2 separate regions of the Homo sapiens genome follow, and region 1 is linked to region 2. Evidence: promoter capture Hi-C in human tissues and cell types (Jung and others, 2019). All regions are on one chromosome and are shown on one strand. Each heading gives the region's core, a stretch centred on a gene start or on the middle of the fragment in contact. The rest is flanking DNA. Distances are from core to core; before and after follow the strand shown.

Region 1 (2,700 bases), core at 74-2,573, 120 kb before region 2:
CTCAAGTGATCCGCTCACCTAAGCCTCCCAAAGTGTTGGGATTACAGGCGTGAGCCACCGTGCCCGACCACTTATCTTTACTCTTAAGGATTTTTTCTCTTAGTACAAGTTAAAGAATTCATGCAGTGAATCTTTGAAATTAGTTGAAAAATAATTTGGATAATATTTTATAATATTCACAGTAAAGTTATAAATGTATTAAAAGCAAATAACTAATAAAGTCTAGGAAACTTTGGTTGTAAAATTGCCTATCTTGTTGGCTCTCAGCATTTCTCTGCAGCAGCACCTATGTTGAAGAGCCTGTTAGACACTCATCAATTCATGTAAAGAAACCAGCAGCCCATGGTCAGTAGTGGGGGCTCCTAGCTACCTTCCTTCCCTCATGTTCAGCCTGTCGTTGTTATTCTCAGTCTTTTGCCACCTGGAGTTCGCCATCTAGATAGGAAGAGCAGGCATATAAATGGGAAAAAATAACCTTGATACCAGTGTCATGTGATTCTTACAGGGCTCTAGAGAAGGAAAAGTTCACTTTCACTTTGAGTGGTGAAAGAAAAATCAGAGAGTAGGATTAAGCTTGAACCTCAAATGATTGGATAGGATTACAGTAAATAAAGAGGAAGCCTTTCCAAATAAAGGGGAAGCCTCACGTAGCACAGAAGAAAGAGGCCTGGCTTGTTTCAGGGGCCCATTTTGCAAGGGCCAGGCCAGTCTAGCTGACTTTCCCAGAGGGGAAAGTTGGGAGAGATGGGTTGGCGCCAAATTGTGAAATTTGGAGCATTCTGAAGGCCAGGTTGAAGCCCTGACATTGTTGCCACCTTACCTGGCTAGATCTGTACAAGCTGAAACGAAAAGAACCCACACAGCAGAGATTGCAAGTAGGCAGCCCTGTGGCACTGATGGGCTTGCAAAGGCGTTTTGTTAGGTCTGCGAAGTGTGTGTGTGCATGTGCATAGGTGTGTGTTAATGCCAACATTCAAAAATTGGGGAAAGTGGCTTCTGGCTTCTCTTAAAAATGGCTATAGTGGGTCTATGTTCCAGGTAGCAATAGGTGGTTGGCCCCAGTAGCACCTGTTTATTTAGACAGGACAGACACTCTCTGGTTTGCCACAGTCCCCATGAAGCCCACTTCTTCATGTGCATGGCCCACCTGGCTCCTATGGGCATTTGAATTTGCAGCCTCTGAAATAAAGGTAAGAACCAGAATGTTCAGCACCTGGCTAAGTAGTAGAGGCTCACTGTGCTTACGTACCGTGTGGCGTAGTACTTACGGTAAGGACCTATGGGGTATGTGTATGTGGTAAGGGGAACTGCAGCTGGAAATACAAGGGGAGGGGGGCGCTTGTGCTGGTTATTCCCTTCCAAACAAGCAGTCTGTCCTGCTCCAAACTAGTGTCCTCATCAGAAACTCTTTACTTCAACCTTCTTTTCATTGTCCTCCTCATCATCTTTCTTTATTAACCTAGCTTAGTGCAGGTCCTGGACAAATAACCAGGTACCTGCTTTTAGCTATAAGGAATGAGCCCAGAAGCCTCAGCTCACCATCCCAGCTGGGGGCAGATGGCAGCACCCCCGCTGTCAAATAGTTCAGTTCCTTAAAAGTAGTTTGATACTTAATTCACAGACTCTTTCAGAGCAGACTTTTGTAAAGGAAACTCACTAAAGGTAGAACTGAATTATCCTATCAGTCTGTTTCATAGGTGGTACTTTAGAGTTCTGGAAAAGTGTTTTTGACCTGATGAGTTTCCGTAAGATATCCCAAAACAAAGAAAGATTTTCCTAATAGTTTGGACTTTTTCTATTTTCCTGTGGACTCTGAGAAGCCTCAGGACCATGTTTATTCAGCACTGAAACAAGTAAAATGAAGAGAATTGTGGGCCTTACTTAATCAAAGACTATTCACATTTTCACCTTAATTTAGGAATAATATTCCTAGAAATACATGTTGTTATGACGATAAGTAGTATTTTTTCACCAGCACTAAAAGTTATAGTTAAAATATTTTGCTGTATCCCAGCTACTTGGGAGGCTGAGGCAGGAGAATCGCTTGAACCTGGGAGGCGGAGGTTGCAATGAGCCAAGATTGTGCCATTGCACTCCAGCCTGGGCATCAAGAGCAAGACTCCGTCTCAAAAAAAAAAAAAAATTTGCTGTAAGCGAAGACTGAAATAGCTTCTATAGGAGAGCTTTAGAATGAAGTCATTTAGAGGAGCAGGCGAATCCTAACCGCATCTCTCTCTTTAGCTGGACTGAACCCAAACATGAATGTCAACAGCATGGACATGACCGGTGGCTTGTCGGTGAAGGACCCATCCCAGTCCCAGTCACGCCTCCCCCAGTGGACGCACCCCAACTCCATGGATAACTTGCCCAGTGCCGCTTCCCCCCTGGAGCAGAACCCTAGCAAGCATGGTACGTCTGAGCTAGGATGCCTGTGGTGGGATCACTGCTGGCTTATTAATCGATCGTCCTGTTGTATAGCATGGCCATTCTATACTTTTCTAAGAATTGAGCACTGAAAGTTGGATTTAAAATAACCCATTCCATTATAGTGCATATAAGATCTCAGCTAGTCACTGATCAAACTTCTTAAAACCCAACCATTAGATCTTAGCTACAAACTTAGAAATAATTTGAAAACCCCAGAGCAGCAAAGAATCTAGGTCATAGCCTGTGTACTTTTTTTATGTATCTATATTCATC
Region 2 (2,700 bases), core at 48-2,547:
AACATGGTGAAACCCCATCTCTACTAAAAATACAAAAATTAGCCTGGTGTGGTGGTGCATGCCTTTAATCTCAGCTACTCGGGAGGCTGAGGCAGGAGAATCGCTTGAACCCGTGGCGGGGAGGAGGTTGCAGTGAGCTGAGATCATGCCACTGCACTCCAGCCTGGGCGATAGAGCGAGACTCAGTTTCAAATAAATAAATAAACATCAAAATAAAAAGTTACTGTATTAAAGAATGGGGGCGGGGTGGGAGGGGTGGGGAGAGGTTGCAAAAATAAATAAATAAATAAATAAACCCCAAAATGAAAAAGACAGTGGAGGCACCAGGCCTGCGTGGGGCTGGAGGGCTAATAAGGCCAGGCCTCTTATCTCTGGCCATAGAACCAGAGAAGTGAGTGGATGTGATGCCCAGCTCCAGAAGTGACTCCAGAACACCCTGTTCCAAAGCAGAGGACACACTGATTTTTTTTTTAATAGGCTGCAGGACTTACTGTTGGTGGGACGCCCTGCTTTGCGAAGGGAAAGGAGGAGTTTGCCCTGAGCACAGGCCCCCACCCTCCACTGGGCTTTCCCCAGCTCCCTTGTCTTCTTATCACGGTAGTGGCCCAGTCCCTGGCCCCTGACTCCAGAAGGTGGCCCTCCTGGAAACCCAGGTCGTGCAGTCAACGATGTACTCGCCGGGACAGCGATGTCTGCTGCACTCCATCCCTCCCCTGTTCATTTGTCCTTCATGCCCGTCTGGAGTAGATGCTTTTTGCAGAGGTGGCACCCTGTAAAGCTCTCCTGTCTGACTTTTTTTTTTTTTTTAGACTGAGTTTTGCTCTTGTTGCCTAGGCTGGAGTGCAATGGCACAATCTCAGCTCACTGCACCCTCTGCCTCCCGGGTTCAAGCGATTCTCCTGCCTCAGCCTCCCGAGTAGTTGGGATTACAGGCATGCACCACCACGCCCAGCTAATTTTTGTATTTTTAGTAGAGACAAGGTTTCACCGTGATGGCCAGGCTGGTCTTGAACTCCAGGACTCAAGTGATGCTCCTGCCTAGGCCTCTCAAAGTGTTGGGATTACAGGCGTGAGCCACTGCACCCGGCCTGCACGCGTTCTTTGAAAGCAGTCGAGGGGGCGCTAGGTGTGGGCAGGGACGAGCTGGCGCGGCGTCGCTGGGTGCACCGCGACCACGGGCAGAGCCACGCGGCGGGAGGACTACAACTCCCGGCACACCCCGCGCCGCCCCGCCTCTACTCCCAGAAGGCCGCGGGGGGTGGACCGCCTAAGAGGGCGTGCGCTCCCGACATGCCCCGCGGCGCGCCATTAACCGCCAGATTTGAATCGCGGGACCCGTTGGCAGAGGTGGCGGCGGCGGCATGGGTGCCCCGACGTTGCCCCCTGCCTGGCAGCCCTTTCTCAAGGACCACCGCATCTCTACATTCAAGAACTGGCCCTTCTTGGAGGGCTGCGCCTGCACCCCGGAGCGGGTGAGACTGCCCGGCCTCCTGGGGTCCCCCACGCCCGCCTTGCCCTGTCCCTAGCGAGGCCACTGTGACTGGGCCTCGGGGGTACAAGCCGCCCTCCCCTCCCCGTCCTGTCCCCAGCGAGGCCACTGTGGCTGGGCCCCTTGGGTCCAGGCCGGCCTCCCCTCCCTGCTTTGTCCCCATCGAGGCCTTTGTGGCTGGGCCTCGGGGTTCCGGGCTGCCACGTCCACTCACGAGCTGTGCTGTCCCTTGCAGATGGCCGAGGCTGGCTTCATCCACTGCCCCACTGAGAACGAGCCAGACTTGGCCCAGTGTTTCTTCTGCTTCAAGGAGCTGGAAGGCTGGGAGCCAGATGACGACCCCATGTAAGTCTTCTCTGGCCAGCCTCGATGGGCTTTGTTTTGAACTGAGTTGTCAAAAGATTTGAGTTGCAAAGACACTTAGTATGGGAGGGTTGCTTTCCACCCTCATTGCTTCTTAAACAGCTGTTGTGAACGGATACCTCTCTATATGCTGGTGCCTTGGTGATGCTTACAACCTAATTAAATCTCATTTGACCAAAATGCCTTGGGGTGGACGTAAGATGCCTGATGCCTTTCATGTTCAACAGAATACATCAGCAGACCCTGTTGTTGTGAACTCCCAGGAACGTCCAAGTGCTTTTTTTGAGATTTTTTAAAAAACAGTTTAATTGAAATATAACCTACACAGCACAAAAATTACCCTTTGAAAGTGTGCACTTCACACTTTCGGAGGCTGAGGCGGGCGGATCACCTGAGGTCAGGAGTTCAAGACCTGCCTGGCCAACTTGGCGAAACCCCGTCTCTACTAAAAATACAAAAATTAGCCGGGCATGGTAGCGCACGCCCGTAATCCCAGCTACTCGGGAGGCTAAGGCAGGAGAATCGCTTGAACCTGGGAGGCGGAGGTTGCAGTGAGCCGAGATTGTGCCAATGCACTCCAGCCTCGGCGACAGAGCGAGACTCCGTCATAAAAATAAAAAATTGAAAAAAAAAAAAGAAAGAAAGCATATACTTCAGTGTTGTTCTGGATTTTTTTCTTCAAGATGCCTAGTTAATGACAATGAAATTCTGTACTCGGATGGTATCTGTCTTTCCACACTGTAATGCCATATTCTTTTCTCACCTTTTTTTCTGTCGGATTCAGTTGCTTCCACAGCTTTAATTTTTTTCCCCTGGAGAATCACCCCAGTTGTTTTTCTTTTTGGCCA

The links. The method cuts DNA at HindIII sites, captures the fragments that hold promoters and counts their contacts. A contact is called where the count stands out against the background at its distance.
Region 1: a fragment that was not itself captured here is called in contact with the fragment with the promoter of BIRC5 in region 2 in 3 of the 25 tissues and cell types used here (bladder, lymphoblastoid cells and spleen).

What each region holds. Positions count from the first base shown.
Region 1 is chr17:78,089,199-78,091,898 of GRCh38, forward strand. TNRC6C (trinucleotide repeat containing adaptor 6C) reads left to right here. Exons shown (of 23, transcript NM_001142640.2): 16 at 2,242-2,409. Among named protein-coding and RNA genes, the nearest start is that of TMC6, 38 kb to the right of the region's middle. The HindIII fragment of the contact is 5,688 bases long and covers 1-2,700 here.
Region 2 is chr17:78,212,956-78,215,655 of GRCh38, forward strand. It overlaps BIRC5 (baculoviral IAP repeat containing 5), which reads left to right and starts at 1,298. Exons shown (of 4, transcript NM_001168.3): 1 at 1,298-1,472; 2 at 1,725-1,834. The coding sequence starts at 1,362. RefSeq lists an enhancer at 1,043-1,944. The HindIII fragment of the contact is 20,243 bases long and covers 1-2,700 here.